5 separate regions of the Homo sapiens genome follow, and regions 2, 3, 4 and 5 are each linked to region 1. The links are contacts of gene promoters, found by promoter capture Hi-C in human tissues and cell types (Jung and others, 2019). All regions are on one chromosome and are shown on one strand. Each heading gives the region's core, a stretch centred on a gene start or on the middle of the fragment in contact. The rest is flanking DNA. Distances are from core to core; before and after follow the strand shown.

Evidence for each region. Contacts are between HindIII fragments. The study calls those that stand out against the background at their distance.
Region 2: a contact is called between a fragment that was not itself captured here and the fragment with the promoter of TRIM35 in region 1, in 3 of the 25 tissues and cell types used here (aorta, lymphoblastoid cells and spleen).
Region 3: a contact is called between the fragment with the promoter of SCARA3 here and the fragment with the promoter of TRIM35 in region 1, in 3 of the 25 tissues and cell types used here (liver, neural progenitor cells and thymus).
Region 4: a fragment that was not itself captured here is called in contact with the fragment with the promoter of TRIM35 in region 1 in 1 of the 25 tissues and cell types used here (adrenal gland).
Region 5: a contact is called between a fragment that was not itself captured here and the fragment with the promoter of TRIM35 in region 1, in 2 of the 25 tissues and cell types used here (bladder and dorsolateral prefrontal cortex).

The regions. Positions count from the first base shown.
Region 1 is chr8:27,309,032-27,314,690 of GRCh38, forward strand. TRIM35 (tripartite motif containing 35) reads right to left here and starts at 2,241. Exons shown (of 6, transcript NM_171982.5): 1 at 1,770-2,241. The coding sequence starts at 2,204. It also overlaps a transcript of PTK2B not described here. RefSeq lists enhancers at 1,210-1,319, 1,720-1,939, 1,950-2,099 and a silencer at 2,250-2,459. The HindIII fragment of the contact is 16,679 bases long and covers 1-5,659 here.
Region 2 is chr8:27,569,713-27,574,685 of GRCh38, forward strand. No RefSeq gene overlaps it. Among named protein-coding and RNA genes, the nearest start is that of MIR6843, 39 kb to the right of the region's middle. The HindIII fragment of the contact is 5,720 bases long and covers 408-4,973 here.
Region 3 is chr8:27,631,401-27,636,617 of GRCh38, forward strand. It overlaps SCARA3 (scavenger receptor class A member 3), which reads left to right and starts at 2,502. Exons shown (of 6, transcript NM_016240.3): 1 at 2,502-2,807. The coding sequence starts at 2,801. RefSeq lists enhancers at 2,136-2,965, 2,966-3,794. The HindIII fragment of the contact is 21,622 bases long and covers 1-5,217 here.
Region 4 is chr8:27,730,455-27,735,592 of GRCh38, forward strand. It overlaps CCDC25 (coiled-coil domain containing 25), which reads right to left. Exons shown (of 9, transcript NM_018246.3): 9 at 2,862-5,138. It also overlaps a transcript of SCARA3 not described here. Among named protein-coding and RNA genes, the nearest start is that of MIR3622B, 31 kb to the left of the region's middle. The HindIII fragment of the contact is 4,166 bases long and covers 1,378-5,138 here.
Region 5 is chr8:27,793,124-27,798,757 of GRCh38, forward strand. All of the region lies in intron 9 of ESCO2 (establishment of sister chromatid cohesion N-acetyltransferase 2), which reads left to right. Among named protein-coding and RNA genes, the nearest start is that of ESCO2, 21 kb to the left of the region's middle. The HindIII fragment of the contact is 5,983 bases long and covers 1-5,021 here.

The DNA.
Region 1 (5,659 bases), core at 991-3,490:
CTGGAAGCTCCTTGAGGCTGGAAATGGTCTATCTTGTCTCCTGCAGTATCCCTGGGACCTTGCAGTACCAGGCATCTGCTGGTGCATGGCTCTCTGCTCTTGAATCCTGGCTTGGCCCCAGCCTGGGGGCTCTGCCTGGGTGTTCTCAGCCCTGACCCCAGCATCTCCTGATCAGCACCTCGGCCAGCCAAATAGGCATCAGTCATGACCTGAACCATGATCCCTCCTTTACCTGGGCCCCAGACCCCTGGCTGGCCAGCACTTATTCCAGCTGTCCCAAATCAGGATCTGTCACTTCTGCCAGTGGAAACAGGAAAAGCATTGACATGGACCCATGTTAAACAAAAAAGATGACAGGAGTAACAGGGTTACTCATTGAGACATGCGTACTGACAGCATCCTTACATTCCCCTTCAATTAAACTTTGTCAAATGCATTTGGAGCGGAACAGACTTCCGTATTTAAAAAGGTATTGCAAAAAAAGAAGGCAGGGCCACAGAGGGGGCCAGAAACCAGGCACAGGGGACTCGGGCAGCTCCTCCTCTCCAGTCCATGCAGCTTCGGGCCAGCTACCCAGTGTTCTCCCAATTGGGGCTCTGACTCATGCATTAGCAGGTGATGAAATAAATTCAATGTTTCACATTCTGGGTAATTTTTAAAAGTAACAGAGGCCAGGCGGAGTGGCTCACGCCTGTAATCCCAGTAGTTTGGGAGGCAGAGGAGGGCAGATCACTTGAGGCCAGGAGTTCCAGACCAGCCTGGCCAACATGGTGAAACCCTGCCTCTACTAGAAATTAAAAAAAAAAAAAAATTAGCCAGGCGTGTTGGTACATGCCTGTAATCTCAGCTACTCGGGAGGCTGAGGCACCAGAATCGCTTGAACCCAGGAGGCGGAGGTTGCAGTGAGCTAAGAGCACGCCACTGCACTCTAACCTGGGCGATAGAGGTCTCAAAAAAAAAAAAAAACAAAGGGAAGTAACAGAAAATATCAGAGTGCCATGGACATGTTCAGAAAACTTTTGTTTCAACTGATACATATGTTCTGGGTCACAAGGGAAAATGCATTGCTTCCTATGGGCTAAGATTAAACGTTTTGGAAAATGCTGAGTTAGGCTAACCCTTATCTTCTATTCATTTTTCCTTCCTATATCAAAGAATTCTCCATGTTAGTTTTGCCCTGTAAGTTGCTCCTGGGTTTATGTATAGTCACTAGAACTCTAGATATGGAGATGCTGCTTTATAAACCAGAATAGGCCAGCCAGCCAGGGTCAGAGACCTCTCACTCAGATAATACAAACCGCGGGATCAGCTTGGCAAGTAGGTGACTGGTTTGGGGGAAATCTTAAGACTCCACACCCCTGGCCAGGTCTGTGGCTCCTCCTCCACTTCTAAATTGAGTGTGCCAAGCTACAGGGCTCGTGGGCTGCACCCACATCCGTGCCGCTTAAAGGGACCTGGGCCACACCCGGCTGGCACAAGGGGTGCATGGCCTGGGCCCTTCAGAAGCAAGTGTCGCTGTCTTGGGAACATCATGTAACCTCATCTGTCACTTTCCGTTCGCATTCTCTTCTCCCAGCACGGGCCCCTGGGCCGACCTTGAAGAAGCAGCCAGCCCTGAGAACCTGGGTCGGAGAGGTGGGGTCCTGCATGCTGGGAGCGAGACGCGGGCACACTGGGCTCTGGCAGGCAGGAGGGGCGGGAGCCGCAGAGCCAAGGGATTCCGGGTTCCAGACCCGGCTCGGCCGCCTCGTGCAAATCGCTGCTCTTACCCGAAAGTCGTGGGCAGTGTCCTTCACCGGCTGCACGCGGTGCCCCTGGTGTCGGGGGTCGGCCTGGCAGGAGCAGCACAGCAGCTCCTTGTCCTCGAGGCAGAAGAGGCTGAGCTGTCCGCGGTGCAGGCGGCAGACACGCGAGAAGCGGTAGCTGGTCCAGCGCGCGCCCTCGGCCTCCTCGCGCAGCAGCTTCTCCACCAGGTTGTTGAGGGTGTGGTTGGTGCGCAGGTCGGCGGGTGACGCGCGGTCTTTGCACACTGGGCAGGTGGGCGACACCTGCACCTCCCAGCAGCGGCTCACGCACCCGCGGCAGAAGTTGTGGCCGCAGCGCAGAGTGACTGCGTCGCGGAAGGGGTCGTAGCAGACGGCGCAGAGCAACTCCTCCTTGAAGGAGCGGGAAGGCCCGGGGGACACGTCGGGACTCCGCTCCATGGCACGAGCAGCCGGCTCGGGCGCCCGGAACTTTTGCTCCGGCCCCTCCCACCCGCCCGGCTGCCAACGCCCGCGACCCGAGTGCTGGGAATCGCCCAGTCCCTTCCCCTGGAACGCTGAGAGACAGCGGCGCTGGCCAATCGTGCGGGGGGGATGGCGAGGGGGAGGGAGGGGGCGCTCGGAGGAGCCCCACCCACTTCCGGTGTGCGCGGGAAATCTTGGGAGAGCGGGGTGGGCCTTCTGCCCGCAGTTCCCGCCTCCTCAGGTCCGGGCGGGTCCCTGGCCGGGGTAGCACGGAAGGGTCTCCCAGGCGGCGTAGTAGGGCTTCCGTGTTACTGGAAACCTACTTCCGGCTGCAAATGGGAAAAGGAGCCTCTACCTTAACCAATCCCCGGGAACCTCAGGCCCGCGGATGGGAGAAACCAGAGATGCCAACTTCCTGCTTCCGAAGTAGTGGCTGGGTCTTAAAGCACCGTGAGTGCAATCACCACTTAAGTTTGCAGCGCCTTTTTGAGGACCTATGCCACTCTTGCATTAGTCGTTTACTTATTTTGGCCAGTCTTCTTCTGGCCCGCCGCGGTAAGGAGAAACAAGAGAGGGGTGGCGGCAGAAGAGCTCCGAGAAAACCTGATTCTTGTCCTGTGGTTGAAAAAGTGAACAGGTCATCATGTTTCAAAGTCCATTTACTCATGAGTACAATGGCTGTAATAGCTCTGTTTCCATGAAGTGTGAGGATAAAGTGAAATAAATGTGGAAAGTGCTCATGACAACCACTGTTTTAATGGGCAAGTGCCCATTAAAACAGTGAAATTGAGGACTTCTGCAAAGTTTAGCTGAGATAACTAGAGTTCATGCTCAATTCTTGCCAGGTACAGTAGGCCTGGATGGTTCCTTCAGATCTTCATTCCTGCTTCAGTTTGATCACTTTACAGCCTCCAGATGCAGAATACTTTTCACACGATGCACTTTCATTCCTTTTCTATTGGGAGACAATTCACATGTGTCATGTTCCTGCATGTCTTGAGAGAGCAGAGGCACTGACTGCCTTTTTCCAACTATCTTTTCAAGGATGTTTCTGCATTGAATAGCCCTGGAAGACAGAATTCTTGTCTCTCCAAAGATCTGGCAGACTTATTCCCAATTATAAGAGATGTGAGTTTCCTAAACTTGGGGCCCCTCTCCTGTAATGCAACCTACTGTAGCCTTCATCACATAGTCTTGCAAGAATTAGGGCTCAGAAACTGGCCCAATGACAATACTGTGACTACTATTATTGCTGTTAGTATTATCCTTTGTCTCTGACCCAGGAGTTTCATCTTTTAGCAGTATTCATGAAATTTTGGCATGCAAACTTGTTAGTGTTGAAACTCAGAAAACAATACCCCAAAATGGCCTCAAAAGCAGAAATTTTTCTCTGCCCTCCTATCTCTCAGTCCCCCAAGGATAGCCATAGAAATTAGAATTCCTTTTCCCCAAGGCAGGTCATAGAAACCAGAACCCCTTTTTCCTAAAGCCAGTCTTGAAACCTTAAAATATTACTCTTTCTCTCTGCCTTTCTGTGGAATAACTGGCCATAAAGAAATTATCTGACCTACCTTGTTTGACTGTAGGCCATAAGAGCCCGATTCCAGAGAGGGTCCTACCCCATACCTGTTAGGGGTAGAAGGTGTCTGAGTTAACAGCAGTGAATCTGTATGGGTCTGCAGCAACCTCAATTCTTGCCTCCTTGGAAGAAAGAATTAGACTGAGGGGCATGATATGGTTTGGCTGTGTCCCCACCCCAAATCTCATCTTGAATTGTAATCCCCATAATTCCCACGTGTCAAGGGAGAGACCAGGTGGAGGTAATTGAATCACAGGGGTGGTTTTCCCCCCATGCTGTTCTCCTGATAGTGAGTGAGTTCTCACGAGATCTGATGGTTTTATAAGTGTTTGGTAATTCCTCCTGTGTTCATTCTCCTTCCTGCAGCCTTGCAAAGGAGGTGTCTTGCTTCACCTTCACCTTCCACTGTGATTGTAAGTTTTCTGAGGCCTCGCCAGCCATGCGGAACTGTGAGTCAATTAAACCTCTTTCCTTTATAAATTACCCAGTCAGTCTAAGGCAGTTCTTTATAGCAATGTGAAAATGGACTAATACAGGGCATAAGGCAGAAAAAGCAACTGAGGCAAGTTTCAGAGCAAGAGTGGAAGTTTATTAAAAAGTTTGGGACAGAAAAGAAAGTACACTTGGAAGAGACCCAAGCGGGCAACTTGAGGGACAAGTGTGGCATTTAACCCTGATCCTGGGACTTCATATGCTGGCCCACTTCTGGAGTCTTGCTGCCCTCTCCCTTCATTCTTCCCTCAGTGTGAGCTGCCCGAATGCACAGTGCCCTCCCTATGCTTGGGAGGTGAGCATGCACCATGTGCTTAGGAATTTGTACACATGCCCATCTGAGGCTTTCTTCCCTTTTCCAGTGGAATGCCCCCGGAAGGTCATACTCCACTATTTTGTCTCTTAATGTGCATGCCCAAGCTCACTCACCCAATTTCTGAAATTTTATTGGAAGCTGATTACCAATCTCAAGTGTTTTTATCTGTTTGGGAAATTGCCTATGCCTGGCACCTGCTTTAATATCAATTAACATCAAGTAACACTTTAGTGACAGCTGTGGACCATCAGGGAATTGTCTCTCTCCCTCTCTCTGGCCCATCTGCCAAATTATCCATTTTAGAAAGGCAGTGTGATAACTGTGAAACCATCACCTGGCATTCTTGCTTGAGGGGATTGGGGAGGGTAGAGTCCTCTCCTGCCCTGCTCATGCCTGTCTAACTACCTGTAACATACCTGGAAGGAAGAAATGCATGTTCGTAGAGGCCAAGAAAAATCTAGACAGACAGGCCTAGGTTCCCCACTCAGTTTATTAACATTAGCTCATACCCTTTTGTTCAATCATATTTCTACACAGCTACTCATACTTTGCTGAACCTAAGCATGAAAATGAGCCATTTCCAGTCTATCTTTAGGTCTTCATTCTGAAGGCTCCCATGTCACATAAAACTATGATCAGGCCAGGCATGGCGGATCGGGCCAGGTGCCAGTGGTGGCTCACACCTGTAACCCCAGCACTTTGGGAGGTCGAAGAAGGCCTTGAGCTCACAAGTTCAAAACCAGCCTGGGCAACATAGCAAAACCCCGTCTCTACAAAAAATACAACGGGCGCGTGTGGTGGTGTGCGCCTATAGCCTGAGGCAGGAAAATAGGGTCTGGAGGCAGGGAACATAAGGCCAATTCACACTTCAGCTGCGACAGCAAATATCCTCCCCATAGGGCGTAGGCCAAGTAAATAACTTTGTAACTTTACTTCATCCTCTCCATTTACATAGGGCGTACCCCAGGTAACCAATGGAGTCCTCCAGAGGGTATTTAAACCCCCAAAAGTTCTGTAATGGGGCCTTTGAGCCCCTATCTCAGG
Region 2 (4,973 bases), core at 2,018-4,517, 260 kb after region 1:
TGGAGGGATGAATGAAGGGATGGATGGATGAATGGATGGATGGATGGTTGGTTGAAGGGATGGATGAAGGGATGGATGGATGAATGGATGGATGGATGGTTGGTTGGTTGGAGGGATAGATGAAGGGATGGATGGATGGATGGTTGGTTGGTTGGAGGGATGGATGAAGGGATGGATGGATGAATGGATGAATGGATGGAGGGAAGGATGGGTGGATAGATGGATGGATGGGTGGATAGATGGATGGATGGTTGGATGGGTGGATGAAGGGATGGATGGATGGATGGATGGATGGATGGTTGGTTGGTTAGAGGGATGGATGGATGGATGGTTGGATGGATGGATGAAGGGATGAGTGGATGAATGGATAGCTGGATGGTTGAATGGTTGGATGGATGGATGAAGGGATGGATAGATGGATGGATGGTTGGTTTGAGGGATGAATGAAGGGATGGATGGATGGACAAATGGATGGATGGATGGATGAAGGGATGGATGAAGGGATGGATGCATGGATGGATGAAGGGATGGATGGATGGATGGATGGACGGATGGATGGATGGATGGATAGCTGGATGGATAAAGGGAAGGATGGATGATGGATGGATGGTTGGATGGATGAAGGGATGGATGGACGGATGAAGAGATGGGAGAATGGATGATGGATGGATAGATAGATGAAGAGATGGATGGATGGGTGGGTGGTATGCAGCATACCTGAAGTGCCTGGAATCCTAGATCCATTCTTCATATTCACTAAGCCATAGGACTCAAATCTATGGTTTCAAGTTCCTTGAAGTTTGGGCTCTTCTCTAGTCATATTGAATAAGGATTCAATATGAGCAGATCCTCTGTGCAGATGGAGTTGGCAATAATTTGAGCAGTACTGACTCAAGAAGATGAAGATCATGGGCTTTGAAATCAAATGAACCCAATTTTGAATGCTGGCTCTGCAATTCCTAAGCTGTGAGCGTGTGCCAGTCATTTAATCCTGCTGAGCCTTAGTTTCCTCATCTACGGAGAGTGTTAATAATGTCTACCTTAAAGTATTGAATCTGAGGATTAAGCCAGATAATACATGTAAAGCATCTAGTTTAGTGTTCAAACATGCCCCGCATGGCACTCAGTAGGTGACAAACAGAAACTTGTTTTCTAGCCCCCAGTCTAAAATCCTTCCCACTGGAATTTCTAATACTTTAAGACTTGGGGCAAAGACCTTCACTCCAGAAGCCCCCTCCTCAGAGGCATGAGTTTGGGGAAAATCTTTACCCAGAACTCCCAACTGGTGGTTGAAAAAGTGATTCCACAGTTCCCGGGGTACAGCATGGATCCCTGAGGTGCCAATGCTGGGCCTGCAGAAATCATTCAGCAAATGAGATGCCTGATGTCTTAGCCCAAGAGAGTGGGGCAAGTTCAGGACAAGAGCATTCCGTAGAATTGTTGGGCTTTGAAAAGGCATGCCTGAGCCAGGGAGCCCCGTGAGGAAAGGGGCAGGGAGGAGGACACTGGAATGAGGAAGGGAGGCTGGATGTTCACTGGCCCACACGGCTCCACCTGGAGCCGTCCCAGACTCTGAGCTTTTTGGGGTGACCTTGGGTGTGCTTCAACCAGCCACAGTCCCTCAGAGCAGTGCCAAGGGGTTCACCAAGGCCACTTGTTCACACCAAACAGGGTTTAAAAGGCATTTTCATATTCTGCCCAGTGCCAGGCATGCTGATTGAGAGGGATTGTGGATTTGGCATTTGGGGCTCATATGACCCATGGGCTCACCTTGAGAGCCATGAAATACCATTCTGAGCTCCCACCATGAAGACGGAAGAGATTTTCCTCCAGCCCTCATGCCTCTGTTGATCGTGGCCTTTCCCCTCTCTGCCTGTCAGGAGTGAACGCTCCCTCCTGGCTATGCAGCAGAATGTGGCAGGGACTCCCACAGAGGTGCAACCCAGGGAGGGACCTTTGTCAGGCCTGTGCTGGGCAGCCCAGTGACCCTTTCTTCTCCTCAACAGTCCCCTCCAGGACAGCCTGCATCTCTCCCCCTCAGCAGCTCCTGCCGTCATCTCTGCCCTTCAGGGTCCTTCTGGCCTGGACTGGACTGGCTGCAGAAGTGATAATAGGTCTTTTGCTTGGCTCATTCCTGCTGTCTCTGAACCAAGTACACCAGCCTTTCTCAGTTAAACGGTTTCTAACATACAGGGAATTATGGAAATAGCATGCAGCGAGGGGTCCCAGAGCAGCCCGTCTTGGTCTGTGCACTGAGGTTAAGCTCTGCGCGTGGACTCGTGAAGGAACTTCAGCCTTAGAGCTGGGCCTCCAGGACCAGCAGAGGAGCCAGCCTGCCCTTGGGGCTTGAAGTTGAAGGCAGTATCCAGTGCAGAGGGCCTACCCAGGAGCTAAAGAAATAATTCAAGCCTGGCAGAGACGGCCGAGGCAAAGACCATGCCTCAAGTCCGGAACATGGGAAGGAGGTGTGGACGAGGCTGGGCAGAGTGAGCATGGCCTGGAGAGGATCCTAGGGGCTGGAATACAGAGCCAAGTCCATTTTCTCAGGGTCCATGTTCAAGAGGTATTTAGGATGAGGAACCAACAGGACTCGGCAGCTGAGTGTGTGGTGAGGTGGCAGGAAGGAAGAGTCAAGGATGATGGGGCCACCATCAGTAGAGAATCCAGGAGGCTCGGCAGGGGCAACAAGGTGATTGTTTCCTTTGGGAACTTGAGTTCGAGGGGTCTCAAGCGGAAGTGTCGGAGCAGCTGCTTTGAAGTTCAGGAACTCAGGGGCTGGAGGTACAGATTGAGATGTCATATTCACCAGCTAGAGAGGCCATAGCAAATACCACAGGCTGGGCAGCTTCAACAGCAGATATTTATTCCCTTGTGGTTCTGGAGGTAAGAAGTTCAAGGTGAAGGTGCTGGCAGGGTTGGTTTCTCCTGAGCCTCTCTCCTTGGCTTGCACATGGCCACTTTCTTCCTGTGTCCTCACATGGTCATCTCTCTGTGTGCCTATGTTCCTAATCTCCTGTTCCTATAAGGACACCAGTCACATTGGATTAGGGCCCCTTCATATGACCTCACTGAACCCTAATCACCTCTTTAAAGACACAGTCTCCAAAGACAGTCACATTCTGAGGTGCCAGGGGTTAGGAACTCAACGTAGGACTTTGGAGGAGGCACAGTTCAGGCCATAACAAGGGTCATCAGCTCCAAGACAAGTGACCGCAAGAGTGGAGGGGACACCCAGGGAGAATGGGTTTGGGTGACAAGAGGGCCTTCGAGGACAGGAGCATTCCACGGGTGAGAGGACGCAGAGGCTGCCATGAAGGAAACAAAGGGGATGGTGAGAGAAGACTGAGGACCATAGGAGGGCGGTGCTCTGGAAGCAATGGTGCTGGGTGCCCAGGATGGAGGCGTCAATGCTGCAGGGAATCAGGGACCCACACCCGGAGCTGATTATTCACAGCCATTGCTGACCTCTCTCTGTGAGAACAGCTGGAGTGGGGCATTGGGCAGGGTGAGGGGTGAATGACCATCACAAGCCAGGAAAAGATGGGTGGCAGGACCTCTTTCAACAAGAAAGGTGCCAAAACCCTGCCTAGTTATAGAATCAACTTTTCTACTTCACACTCAGATCAGAATTTATTAATCTTTAAGCTGAATGTTTTGACCCAGAGATAAAGGGATGCTTCTTTTTGCCAGAGGATTGGCTTTGGCCCCCTCTCTCCTGCTAGGATATTAGAGGTGGGTGGAAGATGGACGGTCTCCTGGTACCTGCCCACCCTCTCTCCGCCCTCTCTTTGACCTGGCTGAGATGGGCTGAGATTGATTACAGCTAAGTCCTGTTTCTGTCAGAGCCTAAGCTTGGGCTGCCATGCGCGCGCACGCGCACACACACACACACACACACACAACTGACCTTTCTGTGTTCGGAGCTCAAGATTGTGGCCTCCAGGTCATCTCAACATGGAGGCTTCTCACTTAAACATGACATCCTTGAAAACTCAAAGTGACTCTTAGGCAATAGATTACCTTCCCAAAATTTCCAATTTATTTAACTTTAGAAGGCTGTGATGCATGAGAAATAGCAATTATAATCTCCCCCCCCAAGAAGACAAAATACACAATTGCATGCATGTGTGCACCCACACACAATTGCACAACCAAAAACTCTCAGCAAGGTGCAACGGCAAGGACTCTGGGAAGGGAGGCAGGTGCCCAAGCCCTGCTGTTCTGCTGACTCTGTGTGACCTTGATCAAGTTCCTCCAACTTTTGGGGACTCAGTTTCTATGTCTTTTAACAGTGAGATTGGATTGGTTAATTCCCTGCGGTCACTTTCAGCTCTGACATTCCATAAGCCAGCACAGCACTTGGATGCAAAACTGTCCCCCCAACCTTATTGCTCCACCCTAGAGATAAGGCCATCTCTTGCATTACTGTTTCTCTTCCTTCAAGGATCTGGTGAAAGTTCTTGGGCTATCCCTGAGGAGGACGTGAACCCTGTTGGGAATGTTGCTGCAGTCCCCACTGGTGACCCCAGTTCATCCCAGGGGGCTTATGGAGCAGGACTTTGCTCTCCTGCTCACTCATCTGTGCTTCAGTGCACTCTGGATGGATTCTCTTCCCTGCCCTGAAGTGGCAGCTGCTGCCATACCCTGCTTTGCAGACCCAGCACCAGTCTTAGAGGCCATCCTTAGTTTCTGTCACCACCACCCCCCACCTCCATTGGCAGGCCATAAACAAGGACTGCCACCAAGGGTGGGTGGCAGTTTCAGCCCTGTGATTCACTGCAAGGGGTGTGTGCAATAAATAGCTCTGTAGTTAATTGCCTTTTGCTTGCCACTCAGAGCAGCCTGTAAAGGGCATCTGTGAGAAGCTGAGAGTGCTTGGGATGCACCAGGGTGGGGTAGGGGCGGGAGTAGGGAGAGCTAAGCTGAAGATGGACAAACACAGCACAGGCCTTGCTCCCGCAAAGGAAACAACT
Region 3 (5,217 bases), core at 1,252-3,751, 320 kb after region 1:
AGATTAAATAAGTTAGCATACAGGTAACCTCCAAGGTAAATAAGTTAGCATACAGGTAACCTCCAAGGTAAATAAGTTAGCATACAGGTAACCTCCAAGGTGACTATCTCCCTGGGGTTTACAAAACAGCTCTCCTGATCCATGCCCTAGTTGTGGGAGACTCAGATCATGCGGCAAACTCGGAACCCAGATACAGGTGACAGGAGCACATGACTGTCACCAGGCAGGCAATGCCCCCTCTAAACCTCAGTCTCCTCATCTGTAAAATGGGCAGCACAGTCCCTGGGATCCCCCTCTCAAGGTGGTTGTGAGGTTCTGCTGAGATCATGGAGAGAAGGGACTTCGCAAACTGTAAATTTGCCATGGCAAAATGGAGATTAGAGAGAACACAGCATCACCCTTGCTGATCTGATGGGATCTACAGACAGGGGTGGCTGTCCTTGTCCTCTTCTCTACTCCAGGCTTAGGAGACACTTTCTCTTCCCCTCGGGTCTCACCTACTTTACTTCAGCATTAAATAGGGCTTGGGGATGGGGAGATGGTGCTGACTGTGGCATCAGAAGAGACCAGGCTGGCCTGTGCCACTTTGTGGTCCCGTTTCTCCCTGCACTTTTCTTCTCATAACATTCATCCCACTTCTGCACTGCTGCTTGTTTAATTACTGGCTTTCCTAACCAGACTGGCCATGTGACATGTTCCTCACACTTCTGGAGCTTGGGGCAGAGCCTGGTCCCTTGTAGCGAAACCATTTTGGTATAGTCTGGCTGCCCTGTTTGCTTTTGGTTGCTTGCTTGCTTTTTGTTTTTCTGGTGAGTTTTTTTTGTTTTTGTTTTTGTTTTTGTTTTCTTTTTTCCATGAAGCTGAAGGCTACACCACTGAACACTGAAACTTAACCTTCATTCACTACTTTATAGGTAACATTCATAGGCCACCATGGTAATGATCTCTTCAGTTGTTTTTTAGGAACTTGGGCTAGCTCCTGTCCATCTCAAACTGGTGAGACCATTGGCCCTTCAACTGGGCAAGTGCCCCAAGAGGTGGGCTTTCAATGTCGGAGAGCCAAAAAACTCCACCCTTGGATCATGCTAACCCTGCCATTTTCTGCATATATGTCCTATGAAATACCATTAGCTCAGACTACATTGGCATGGAATGAACCTGTTTCTTCATTTGTCCCCACTGCCAATTGCCTTTCCCCATGGCTTAGACCACTCTACTTCCCTAACCCATAAATATCCTTAAGCCTGATCTTCTGGGAGGTGGATTTGAGAGCTGTTCTCCCACCTCCTCTCTTGGTGCCCTTGCCAATAAGTCTTTTTTCTCTTTTCTAAAACCCGTGTCACCTGATTGATTACCTGCAGGGGCAGCTTGCAGGGTGGGCAGATTGGACAGCGGACCTAGACCTGGCCGGCAGCTGGGAGCTCGGTAAATGTTTGTTCAATCAATGAAAAATGACACGTGAGAATCCTGAGTGGCGCTTATGACCAGTCTCAACTCCCTGCCTGCATTCACTTTCCTTGGCTGTCACTGTTTACCCCAGAGACCCCTCCACCAACAAAATCACAGAATTTGATGGCCAGGTGCAGTGGCTCAGGCCTATAATCCCAGCACTTTGGGAGGCTGAGGTGGGTGGACCACCTGAGGTCGGGAGTTCCAGACCAGCCTCCCCAACATTTTTAGTCTCTACTAAAAATACAAAAAAAAATTACCGGACGGGATGGTGCATACCTGTAATCCCAGCTACTCGGGAGGCTGAGGCAGGAGAATCATTTGAACCCAGGAGGCGGAGGTTGCAGTGAGCGGAGATTGCACCACTGCACTCCAGCTTAGATGGCTAGAGCCTCAAAAAAATAAAAATGAAAAATAAATCACAGAATGTGGCGCACTCCAGGCCCAATTCTCTCATGTAGAAAGAAGAGGCTTGGAGATGAGAACTGGATGCCCAAAGTCACTCAGCTCGCCAGGGGCAGAGCCAGGGTGCTCACAGGGTGGCCAACCTTCCACGTCTGCCCTGGACACGGGACTTTCAGTACTAAAATGTGCGGACGTCCTTCTCCCGGACGTCCTTCTCCCAGGCCCTCGACATCATAAGATGGGCGAGAAAAACGTGCAGGGCTAAAATCTGGGGTCCCCACCCCTGCCCCAGCCACTTGGCGGTCCCGATAGTGAAATGGACTAAGATCAAGGAGCTCTCCCGGTGAGCCCCCCCATTGCGGCCGCAGCGCGGGCAGGGAGGACGCCGCGGGAGCCCGGGTTCGAGGCTGGGCTGTGGGGCTGCGGGGGCGCACGGGCGAGGTAGGCGGGGCGCGGGGCCCCCGCGGCGGCACAAAGAGGCCGGCCGCGGCAGTTTTGAAAATACCAAGGAAGTTGATCTGGGCCGGGGCCCAAGAAGTGACGAGGAGGGAGGGAGGCTTGCGAGCGAGGGAGGAAAGGAGGGAGAGGGAGAGGAGAAGGCGGGAAGGAGGGAGGGAGGAAGGGTGCGCGGGGCGAGGGGCGGCGGCAGACCTCGCGGGGCCCCAGCGGGAAGCGCGGGCGGCGGCGGGATGCGCGCTCTGGGCGGCGGGGCGCGGCGCTAGGCGCCCGGCGGGGCTTCCCCAGGCTGCGACCCCGCGGGACCCTCCACTCCTCCCGCCGCCTCCGCAGCCCGCGCGCCGGAGCATGAGTCCCGGCCGGAGCCCCACGGCCGCGGGCGGCGCCTAGGACGGCGATCCGCGCCCTGGAGGATCCGCCGGCCGCCCGGCTCCACTACAGCTCCAGCCGCCTGCAGCGGGGCCCTCCTGAGGCCCCAGAGGAAGAGACCATGAAAGGTAAGGGCGGCCTGTCGGGGGCAGCTCCGAGGGGGGCCGCCTGCACCCCCGCTCCACCCAGGGCCTGGGGGGCGCCTTTTCTGCAGGCGAGGCTGAGAGGAGGGCAGGGCGCCTCTGGCTTTTCCCCTGCCTTTTTGGGCATCCTGCGAGACAGGACGGATCCCTGAAGACCAGAGGAAGCAAAGAGGAGAGGGAGGATGGGGACACTCACACACCCCCCCTTGCAGTCCTGTTCTCATCGGCCGTTGCTCTAACCTCACAAATAATTTTAAAATCCAGAGAAGTTTCTGATCCCTTTAACCAGTAGACGCAGAAAGGCATCACCAGCCCAACTTTCCAGCAGTGTAAATTTCGACCCTGGGGACCCATCAGAGAGGCCCCTGCATCCCCCACCGAGCCTTTCAACCGGGGGCCAGGCCTAGGATTCTCCCCCAGGACCTCCAGCCCTTCCCCAAAAGAGACCTGCAGTGTCAGAGCCCCTCAGCCCAGGCCCTGCCCTTCCCAACCCCTGAACCCTGCCTGACCCACCCTCTGACCTCCTTGGGAGGAAGCCGCCGGGGAAGCCCCATGGGCCAGGACTGACCTCTCCCCAGGGTGGTGAGCCAGCAGCAGGGTGGCCCTTGCAGCCAGTTCTTGGGATGGAAATAAGAACCAGACATGATCCCAAGTGGCCATTTCCAGGGCCTGGGTGTCTTTAGGCCCCTACTTGGTCTTCAAGGTCATTTTGAGGCTACAGGAGAAGCAGGCTTTGGAGTTATCTCATGAGGCAGGGAACCTCCGAGGTTTTGAACGCCATTTCGGGTGTCTTTCAGTAATCCTCCTGTAACACCCCCAGCAGATGCTTGTGTTCCTAGCAGTGAGAACCTCACCACCTCATCTGCTTATGGAAAGTAGAAACTGAAAAGGGCCTTTGAGATCATCTACAGGGCTCTCAACCACACTCTCAGGTGCCACTGACAGGTATGGAGGTGGAAGAGGTGGGGCCAGAGCTCTCAGCCTACTTCAACCAGAGCAGCTCTGTTTGTCTCTCATACAAAGAATGGCCTGAGGGTTCATTGGAAGAAAGGGCTCCACCGACAAACTTCTGACTGGATGCAGCCTCCGCATTGCATAGTTAGGGAAACTGAGGCCCAAGCAGGTAGGGCTGGCTTCATGGCTTCTGCAACCAGTGCCATCCTACAAGGTCCCACACTTGGTTTAATGCTCTGCAGGTGCTATCTTGAACTTTTTAAAAATGTATTTTATTTTGTTTTATTTTAGAGATAGGGACTCAATCTGTTGCCCATGCTGGAGTGCAATGGCATGATCATAGCTCACTGCAGCCTCAAACTTCTGGGCTCAAGTGATCCTCCCACTTCAGCCTCTCATGTAGCTGGTACTACTAGGACTACAGGTGTGCACCACCATGCATGGATTTTTTTTTTTTTTGATAGATATGGGGCCTTATTATATTGCCCAGGTTGGTCTATAACTCCTGGCCTCAAACGATCCTCCCACCTCAGCCTCCTAAAGTGCTGGGATTACAGCCTTGATCCACCATGAGGCCTGAAATTCTTATAATTTTTTAACAAGTCATCCCCTCCCACCAACACACAAACACACACACTTTCCTTTTACACTGGGCCCCACAAATTATGTAGCTGGTCCTGTGGACAGAAGTGAGTTGTTACAAATCACAGTTAGTCAGGGTGACTAGACCCCAGGACTCCTGACTTCTAGTCTAGAATCCACCTTGCCTCTTTGTGGCTTCCTTCCCTCTGCCTCTGGCACCTTCTTTCTGTGCTTCCCGTTGGCCTCCCCAAGTCCTAGGCTCTGCGGGATGAGCCAAGCAAGTTATAATCAGCCCTAGGGAGCACCTGGCAGGCAGTGAGGGGAGCCTCGCCCCAAGTCCTGCTCCTCACTGAGACACCTTTGCAGCTGAACCCTCTGCAGTCAGCTGGCCCAGGGCAGACCATTACTGGAAGCCTCCAGAAAGGTCTTGGACCACATCTTACACGGGGCCACACTGCCCTGGACCTTGATGATGGTGGTGAGATGTTTCACATTCTCAGAGTGGCTCCACCCCAATTCCAGACAAGCACCAGCAGGGTGTGGTGGCAGATACCTGTAATTCTAGCTACTCCGGAGCCCGAGGAGGGAGGATCGCTTGAGCCTGGGAGTTTGAAGTGTAATGAGCCATGATTGCACCACTGCATTCCAGCCTGGGCAACAGAGTGAGACCCTGTCTCTAAAAAAATAGAATTTATTTAAAAAAAGAGGCAGGGCCAAAATCCTGTGAAATAGAGAAGAAAAGAGCTGGTGTGAATGAATATTTAAAAAGAGGTGCCTGAGGAGGACCCGCTGACACCACGTTGCAGGGTTCCAGGCTCTCCTTGTGCTGTGGGTTCCTATACAGGAAGCCAAGCCCTGC
Region 4 (5,138 bases), core at 2,211-4,710, 420 kb after region 1:
CAGCTGAGTCCAGAACAAGAGCTTCTGCCTTTGATTTTTTTTTTTTTTTTTAATCGGGTCTCACTCAGGCTCAGGCTGGAGTGCAGTGGTGAGATAACGGCTCACTGCAGCCTTGACCTCCCAGGCTCAAGCAATCCTCCCACCTCAGCCTCCTGCGTAGGTGGGACTATAAGGCGACTGCCAACAACCTGGACTTTTTTTATTGTTGTATTTTTTGTAGAGATGGGGTTTTGCCACGTTGCCCAGGCTGGTCTTGAATTCCTGGACTTAAGCAATCTGTCCCTCTTGGCCTCCCAAAGTGCTGGGATTACAGGCATGAGTCCACTGCCCCTGGCTGCCTTTGATTTTTAAAAAGGTAACGCTGATTGGCCCCAAGCAGGGGAACTGGAAACACTTTCACCCTATTCCCGTTTATACCTTTTGATTCTGCACCATGAGTACCTATGCCTGTAAATTTTTAAAAAATTAATTATTTTGTGGAAAAGAAAAATTCTTCCTGATCCCAAAGCCCAGGAGATCCTGGGGGGCCACTCCTCCAGGACCTCCTGGGCTTTGGGGGCGTTAACAGAGGGCCTGCAGGGAGGAGGCAGCAGCTAAAATGAGGGGAGATTTGTGTGTTTTGTTTACCCGCTTTTATCTTTTTTTTCTTTTTTTTTTTTTAAATAGAGACAGGGTCTCCCTGTCCCCCAGGCTGGAGTGCAGTGGTGCTATCACAGCTCACTGCAGAATCAAACTCCTGGGCTCAAGCAATCCTCCTGCCTTGGCCTCCTGAGTAGCTAGGACTATAGGAATGCCTAGCTAATTTTTATATTATTATTATTATTTTGTAGAGAGAGGGTCTCAGTATCTTGCCCAAGCTGGTCTTGAACTCCTGCGTTCAAGTAATCCTCCCGCCTCGGCCTCCCAGTGTTGGGATTATAGGATTGAGCCACTGCACTCTTCTGCCTCAGCTGTTGATGTAGGCAGGTGGATCACCTGAGGTCAGGAGTTCGAGACCAGCCTGGCCAACATGGCAAAACCCCGTCTCTACTAAAAATAAAAAAATTAGCCAGGAGTGATGGTGCGCGCCTGTATTCCCAGCTACTTGAGAGGCTGAGGCAGGATAATTGCCTCGGAGACGGAGGTTGCAGTGAGCCAAGATCTTGCCATTGCACTCCAGCCTGGGCAACAGAGCGAGACTCTGTCTCAAAAAAAAAAAAAAAAAAAAAAATGCTGTTTGGTAACCAGATTTAAGCTTTGTCTATTTCAGACCTTCCAGCTGATTCCAAAGACTCTCCTAAAAGCAATTCCAGTTTTGAAATGTTATGTAAGCCTCACTGATGCAGAGTACATAAAATAAAATATGAACTTCAGAGTTTGGAAGGGACATTACATGAAGACCAGGGCTTCACAGTGGAAGACGATTCTGGCAAGGCTAGGCTGGTTCCAGGGCACTGCACGGTACCCCGAATATTTTCTCTTTTTCAGTCTGTGGTTTTCATCTGCTGACCCTGCATTGTGTCTTCACCAAGGGTCAAAAAGCTTCAAGTCTGACAGATCAGCCTTTACCACCTGAAAGATCCCGGTTCTCTTCTGAAATCATAAGCAAATGTTAGCCTTGTCTATGGATAGCAAACTGCTGATGCAGAAACCAAAACACCAGCAGGAGCCCAGGCAGCTAAGGCCTCATCCAGGCAGGATGTGAAATGTCAGGCCATTTGTCTTATATTTTCACTGCAGTGGTTACAAGATGGGATTGATGTTGGAACAAAACACAACACTGACTTTGGAGAATTCCTTGTGTTTTTTTTTCAGCGTTAAATATTGACACCCACTCACCAGGCTTGAGAACTAGAAAAGCTACATGGATTTCTAGAGTGAGCAATGATTTCCTCTGGCCGCCATTCCTTGCCAGGTCGGTGCCACTCAGCACATGCCAAGGGCAGAGACCAGTTTCTTGTTTCATCTGGCTATGGTGTAGACCTACAGTCATACCGCTAAGGTAGAAAGCTCACAGCCCCTCCAAAAATTGACACAATAATGAAATCAGAAAGACAAAACTAAGCAATCAATTTAAGACAGAAAAAGAGGTATGTATAATCTAATGATAAACCCAGGTTAAAAGATGGCATTGGGTAGGTATTTGTATTTTCACTGCACTGCTAAGTCACCTAGTATATACACACATCTCTAAATTTTTCTGTATAAAAATTCTGGATTCAAACTACATTCCCTATATAGACTAATTTACTTAAACATTTAAACCCCAGAACACTAGCAGCTAAGGGAGTTAAAACCAATGGATGCAGGTATTGCCCTGACTAGAAATGCAAACCAAATGTGCTCTGGTAAACATTTAAGAATTCAAATATGCTTTTACAGCTGGGAGAAAAACTTGTATGTTTGTGTGGCTCCTCTGAGCCTAAAACCTCCCTGCAAGCATTCTCACAATAGTGTAAACTCTATCATAAAAGAGGTGAAAATCTATCAACAGAACACAACCCATAGCCCTACAGTCATCCATGAAACCGCCCAGGAAGTCTTCACATTTGCAGGCTTGCCTTGGCCAAAATTTCAGGCAGACCCCCAGGAATTTTGGGAGAGCAGAGGGTCAAGCTGTAAACTCCAAGTACTAGTGTTCAAATATTGTGGCCTTTCAGCTCTGGGTTCTTCAATCCTCCTCCTGGAATTCTTGGGCGACCTTCCCTTTACTAGGATTTGCTCCTCTCCTCCTGCTGTGACTGTGTGAAGGGCAGGCATCATCACATGGGGAGCCAAGTACCTCCGTCTCCCCACTTGCCTAAAACAAGCAGGCACATCCCATCAGTGAGACTGGAACTTGCAGGAGAAAATAAGAAGTGAAATCTCTCTCACACACACAGTTCTACTCAAACTATAAGCTTTTATTATTGTATTTTACAGATCATTCATTCAGGACATGCTGCATCTGGGGTTGGCATCATTTCCCTTTTGAATGACAGAATGTGCATAAAAGTCTCTTGCCCACGCTGAACTCACACGTGCCCGGCAGGAAGGAGCTCTCACGAAGTGCCAGCTGGATGTGAGCTTGCTCTGGCAGCAGCAGTGCTGTCCTTGTTTCTGAGCTGCCACCTATTCACTGGAGTTAGGTGGGTCAAAGCTGAAATTTAGCTTGGAATTTAAGTTTCTAATTTTATACTTTTCATTGTGGTCTGGTCAGATTTTAGTCTGCTTCAAAATCAAAAGGTCACTCAGTCACTCTAATATGATCATTTTGAATATGGAAATTTGTTATTTACATGCTGTACCTCAAATCAAAGAAAAAGCACGCGTCAATATCACGCGTAGGAAAAACTAGAAAATTGTTCCTTTTCCATTTTGCCACCCTGCTCAGTTTTCCTCATAAACGGTTCCAGCTTGGAAAACAAGAGCTTCCCCTCTCAGACAGATGCAGCAGCGGGAGGAAGGGCTTTGGTCTTAAACTAGAAGCTGCAGCTGAAACTCTCCCCGTCTAATCCTGCTGTGTGTATGGCTCACACCATCTTTCCTGAGTGGGGAAAACCGCTGGCACTGAATAGCTGAAAGGCTCGCTGAAATCTGTGCTTCAAGAACGAGTTAAAGACAATACAATAAAACACATAGACACTGAAGGGGTTCAACTAATGTCCATCACTTATTCTGCTAATGTCAGTGCCTTTCAATAAACTTCTCAACATCTGTGTTGGTAAACTTCTCAATATTTGTTCTAGCCCAACCACGGTGACAAAGCTCCCTTGCCCAAAGATCGTGAGCCTAGACAAAGGTGGATAAGAAATATGAAGTCTAAAGCTATAGAATATAGCAGTTAGTGAAGTAAATTAAACATGCCCCTCGCCTGCATGCTGATCAGAGTGTTGAAACTGAAGACGACATTGGCAAAGTGACTCAGACCCACAGCACAGATTTGATCAAGGGCACAGCTCATAAAAATAGCAACAATTTCGAATTCTCCTATCCAACGTTTAGGAAACAATCCAATGGCAAGAAATGAGAGGAGTTCAATGCCAACAGTTTGACCTGTGGGCAATCAACCTATAAGTCCTCAAAAGAAAATTTCCTTGCTTTCCCTGGGACCAACAGAGATGGGGAAAAAAATAAAACAAAGAGGCTGCAGGGTTAGGGGCATAGGAATCAACACAGAGCTATGAATTCAACAAGAGAATTCAGCAGAGACCTGGACATTTTAAACCAGTGTAAGCTGAGTTAGGAAATGTTTAAAGTTTGAGCCCCAGGACCTCTCATACTATAGTAAAAATATATGTATTTTTCAAAAGCGCTATCTACATGTGTTGCAGTGTGAGGTACAGAGGAATTCTGTAGAAGCCGGACTCCTTGGAAGTATGGAAGGAGCACAGCTACGAATACATCTGAGATGTATCAAGAATACATCTGAGAAAGGACATCCCTTTGACCCAGTGAGCAGCTGGAAGAAAGAGGCATTTAGCAGAGGAGGAGAAAGATGATAGCCCCGTACAGAACCTGTCAGACTGAGCCTATGATGAATGAGGTTTTTTAGAGCAAGATCACCCTCAAAACCAGCTTGTGGAATGGGGGCTACCCTTTTTAATAGCAAATTCTAAGAATTCATATATCAATGTCCTTCCAGATTAAAAAAATGGTATTTTATTATAACTTTTAAAATTGCGGAACATCAGACTGAATATCATCAGACACATACACAAAACCACTCATCTCTAAAGTCATTTTCTATACCCTCTCAAAATTTGGCCAGTGAGTTTTGCCTCAGGGAATTTTCCAGTTCAACCCCATACACCAACATGGAATAAATGGAAACACTAGCCTTTTGGTTTTGCCCACAGTTCCAAAGTGCTATTACAGGTGGAATATCTGCTGCAGGAGGTCATTCTTGCTGCTGTGGGTGTGAGTAAAATGCTTAGTTCCTTCTAAAATCATAATTGCAATATGGACTTCTGCTTCACGCTGCATCCTAAGGCACAAATCAGGTAACCTACATCTCCCAAATGATCAACAGAGCACTCCATCCTATTTTACCCTCAATGCTGAGAAATTACTCCTGGGCCCAGAAGTTGTCACATAGGTGGCTTGGGTTACTTGGTGCTCAGGCAACAACTGCCACAGGCCCCAGCTTGATGAACACCATCAATTTCTTTAAATATGTT
Region 5 (5,634 bases), core at 780-3,279, 480 kb after region 1:
TTTTTGGCAAAATAGTCATTACTTATCCCTTAATTAGAATCTAATTTAGGTACTAATTAGCAATGTTCTAGAAGACATGTAGTTTCTCCTTGTGTTATTAGAAGTTGGAGAGAAAAGCAGCTTTTTTGTATTTTTGCCAGTATAAGTGATCAGTTTGGCCTTTTCCTTCCCCCTCAGCTTTATTAAGGTATAACTGACAAAAATTGCAAATATTTACAGTGTACATGTGATATTTTGATATAGGTATACATTGTAAAATGACTAAATCAAGCTAATATAGCTATACCTCACATACTTACCAACTTATTGTGATGAGAACATTAAATCTACTCTCCTTGCAATTTTCTTTTTCTTTGTTTTTTTTTTTTTTTTTCTTTTTTTGAGACCAAGTCTCACTCTTTTGCCCAGGCTGGAGTGCAGTGGCACGATCTCGCCTCACCACAACCTCCACCTCCTGGGTTCAGGCAATTCTCCTGCCTCAGCCTCCCAAGTAGCTGGGACTACAGCCGCGTGCCACCATGCCTGGCTAATTTTTGTATTTTTAGTAGAGACGGGGTTTCACTATGTTGTCCAGGCTGATCTTGAACTCCTGACCTCCTGATCCACCTGCCTCAGCCTCCCAAATTGCTGGGATTACAGGCATGAGCCACCGCACCCGGCCTTTAGCAATTTTCAAGTATACATTAGCTGCAGTCATGCCATACAATAGATCTGCAGAACTTACTCATGCGAACTTAAACTTTGTACCCTTTACCAACGTTTCCCCATTTCTCCCATCTCTCACTCCCCCAGCCTCTGGCAACCACCATTCTACTCTGCTTCTATGAAGTCAACTTCTTTAGATTCAGTATGTAAGTGAGATGTTGCACTATTTTTCTTTTTTGCTTGACTGATTTCACTTAGCATGATGTCCTCCAGGTTCATTCATGTTGTTGCAAATGTCAGGATTTCCTTTTTAAAGGCTGAATAGTATTCCACCTGTATATGTACCACATTTTCTTTATTCATTCATCCATTGATGGACACTTAACGTTGATTACATATCTTGGCTATGAATAATGCTGCCATGAACATGAGAGTACAGATTTCTCTTCAACATACTGATTTCAGTTCCTTTGGATATACACTCAGAAGTGGGATTGCTGCATATGGTAGTTGCATTTTTATAGTAATCATTCTAACAGGCGTGAGGTGATCTTGTTTTAATTTGCATTTCCTTGATGAATTAGTAATGTTGAATGAGCATTTTTTCATATGTCTGTTCCTGATTTGTATGTCTTCTTTTGAAAAATATCTATTCTGGTTCTTTGCCCATTTTTTAATCAGAGTATTTGTTTTCTTGGTATTGGGTTATTTATATATTTTGGATATTATCCCCTATTGTATACACAAATTTTTTTTCCAATCAGTAGGTTGGTTAGTTTGTGTTTATCCACTCTGTACTATGCAGAAACTTTTCAGTTTGATGTTACATTTATTTCTTCTTTTATTGCCCACATTTTTGGGGTCATAGCCAAAAAATTATTGCCCAGACCGATGTCAAGCTTTTTTCTCATTTTTTTCCTTATAGTTTTACAGTTTCAGGTCCCTCATTTTAAGTCTTTCATCCATTTTGAGTTGATTTTTGTATGTGGTTTGAGATAAGTCTCCAATGTTATTCTTCTGTTTGTGGATATTCATTTTTCCCGACACCATTTATTGAAGAGACTGTGTCCTTGCCCCATTGTTTGTTCTTGGCATGTTTGTCAGACACCAGTTGACTCTAAATGCCTGGATTTATTTTATCTGTTTTGTTCCATTGGCTGCTGTGTTTTTTAATGCCAGTAGGAGTGCAGTGCCCCTCAGCTTTACTCTTTGGTCTAGATTGCTTTGGCCGTTTGGAATCTCTTATGGTTCCACAAGATTTTAGGACTGTTTTTTGTATTTTTGTGGAAATGCCATTAGAATTTTGATAGGGATTGCATTGCATTTGTAGATTGCTTTGGGTAGTATGGACATTTTAACGATATTAATTCTTTCAAGCCATGAACACTGGATATCCTTCCATTTATGTAGATATTCTTCATCTTCTTTCATCAGTGTTTTCTGGTCTTCAGTGTATGGATTTTCACCTCCTTGGTTAAATGTATTCATAAGTGGGGTTTTTTATGCTATTATAAGTGGATTGTCTTCTTGACTTCTTTTTAAGATAGATCATAGTTTGTTTTTCCTGTATAGAAACACTACTGACTTTTGTATGTTGATTTTGTATCCTGCACCTTTTCTGCATTTGTTTATTCTAATAGTTTTTTTGGTGGAGGCTTTAGGGTTTTCTGTACATAAGTTCATGTCATTTGCAAACAGATGATTTAACTTCTTCCTTTAAATTTGAATGCCTTTCTTTTTTCTTCCTAATTGCTCTGGCGAGGAATTCCAGAACTATGTAGAATAGAAATGATGAGAGTTAGCATCCTTGTCTTGTTCCTGATTAAGAGGAAAAGATTTCCACTTTTCATTGCTAAGTATGATGTTAGTTGTGGGCTTGTGATATATGGCCTTTAGTATATTGAGGTACATTCCTTCTGTACCTAATTTGTTGAGAGTTCTTATCATGAAAGGATGTTGGATGCCTTTTCTGTATTGAGATGATCATATAGTTTTGTTCTTCATTCTGTTAATATGGTGTAACACATTGATGTGCATGTATTGAGCCATCCTTGCATCCAGGGATAAAGTCCACTGGATCATGGTGTACTATGCTTTTAATGTGCTAGTTTGCATCTGTTTATCAGGGATATTGGCTGGTAACTTCTCTTGTAGTGTCCTTTTCTGGCTTTGGTATCAGATTAATCTGGCCTTGCAAAATGACTTTGGAGGTATTCTTCAGTTTTTTGGAAGAGTTTGAGGATTAGTATTAGTTCTTTAAATATCTGGTAGAATTTAGCAGTGATGTCATTACAGATGGGCTTTCCTATGATGCAAGTTTTTTTTTTTTTCTTAAACTGATTGAATCTCCTTTTTATTGGTTAGTTTAGATTTTCTGTTTCTTCATGATTTGGTATAGGTAGGTTGTATGCTTCTAGGAATTTATTTCTTATAGGTTACCTAATTTGTTGATATATGATTATTCATAGTCTCTTACGATCCTTTGTACTTCTGTGATAATCAGTTGTAATGTCTCCTCTTTCATTTGTGATTTTGTTTAGTTGAGTCTTCTTTTTTCTTAGTCTAGCTAAAGGTTTGTCAATTATCTTTCAAAAAACCAACTCTTCATTTTGCGAATCTTTTCTATTTTTTGAGTCCCTGTTTAATTTATCTCCACTGATCTTTATTTTCTTCCTTCTACTAACTTTGGGCTTTATTCTTCTTTTTCTAATTATTTGAGGTGTAACGTTAGGCTACTTGAGATCTTTCTTCTTTTTTTATGTAGAACTGCTTTTGCTGCATTCCATAGGTTTTGGTGTGTTGTGTTTCCATTTTCATTTGTCTCAAGAAATTTGTCAATTTCCCTTTTAATTTCTTTGATCCATTGGTTGTTCAGGAGCATGTGGTTTAATTTTCACATATTTGTCAGTTTTCTACTTTTCCTCCCGTCATTGATCTCTAATTTTATACTGCTATGAATGTTCTGTGTGCACTTGAAAAGAGTGTGCATTCATTCCGCTGCTATTGGATGGAATACTATATGTGTTTCTGTTAGGTCCATTAGGTCTGAAGTGTAAGTTCAGTGTTTACTGGCTGAACTCAGTGGCTCACACCTGTAATCCCAACACTTTGGGAGGCTGAGGCAGGAGGATAGCTTGAGGCTAAGAGTTCAAGAACAGCCTGGGCAACATAGTGAGACCCTGTCTTTACAAAAATTAGCCAGGCATGGTAGTGCATGCCTATAGTCACAGGTACCTAGGAGGCTGAGGCAGGAAGATTACTTGAGCCCAGGAGTTCGAAGCTGCAGTGTGCTATGATCGCACCAGTGCACTCCGCTCAGGGCAATAGTGAGACCCTATCTCTTAAGAAAGAAAAAAAAAGTTCATTTCCTTATTGATTTTCTGTCTGGACGATGTATCCATTGTTGAAAGTAGGATCTTGAAGTCCCCTACAATTTTGTATTCCTATCTATTTCTCCTTTCAGAATCCTAAATATTTATATATTTAGGTGCTCCAATGTTAGATGCATATGTATTTACAACTGTTTTATCTTAATGAATTGACCCTTTTATTATATAATTACCTTCTTTGTCTCTTGATGGTTTTTGACTTAAAATCTATTTTGTATGATGTAAGTGTAGGTACTTCCTGTTCTCTTTCGGTTTCCATTTGCATGGAGTCGTTTTTCTGACCCTTCACTTTCAGTCTATGTGAGTCTTTTGTAGGCAATATTTAGTTGAGTCTTGTGTTTTTATCCATTTAGCCACTCTGTGTGTCTTGATTGGCAAACATATTCTATTTACACTTAAAGTAATTATTGATAAATAAGGATTTACTATTGCCATTTTGTTTTGTTTTCTGGTTGTTTTATATATATTCCCTTCTTCCTCTCTTGCTGTCTTCCTTGGGATTTGATGATTTTCTGTAGTGGTGTGCTTTGATTTCTTTATCTTTTATGTATCTACTATAGGTTTTCGCTTTATGGTCATGAGGCTTACATAAAATATCCTATAATATAACAGCCTATTTTAAGCTGATAACAATTTATATCACCTACAAAAGCTCTGCACTTTTTTTCCCTTCAACATTACTAATTTTACAGTTTACATCTTTTTATGTTGTGTATTTATTTAAGAGGCCTTTTCCTTCTTCGATCTCAAAGAAGTAGACTGTTATGTCCTGATAATAGGCAAGATGTAGCTAACTAACTGTTCTCTTCTACTCTCAGGTCAGAAACAATGTTGTGTTGTTCGTAATTAAAAACTAAATACACACCTGTCAGAAGGGTAACAGTAGGTAAAGAATTGAGACAATACCAAATGCTAGTGAGGATATGGGGAAACCAGATCTCTCACACCTTGTTAGTAGGAATGTAAAATATTACAGCCACTCTGGAAAAAGTTTTGAAGTTTCTTTAAAAACTAAACATAGGCCAGGCGCAGTGGCTCACACCTGTAATCCTAGCACTTTGGGAGGCCAAGGCAGGTGGATCACCTGAGGTCAGGTTCGAGATCAGCCTGACCAACATGCTGAAACCCCCCGCCTCTACTAAAAATACAAAAATTAGCTGGGCGTGGTGGTGCATGCCTGTAATCCCAGCTACTTGGGAGGTTGAGGCAGGAGAATCACTTGAACCCAGGAGGTGGAGGTTGCAGTGAGCGAGATCGTGCCACTGCAATCCAGCCTGGGCCACAGAGTGAGACTCCGTCTCTTTAAAAAAAAAAAAAACTAAACATGTATTTACTATATGATCCAGCCATTGTTCTCCTGGGCATTTAAGTAAAACAAAGGAAAACTGATGTACACACAAAAACCTGTACAAGAATGTTAATAGCAGCTTTATTAGTAATAGCCAAAACCTGGTAACAACCAAAGTGTCCTTAAATGCTTTAGGTGAATGATAAGCTATGATACAGCCATATGATGGAATATTACTTAGCTATAAAAAGTAACAAAGAATTGATACACTTAACAACTTGGATGAGTCTCAGGGGCATTATGCTGAGTGGG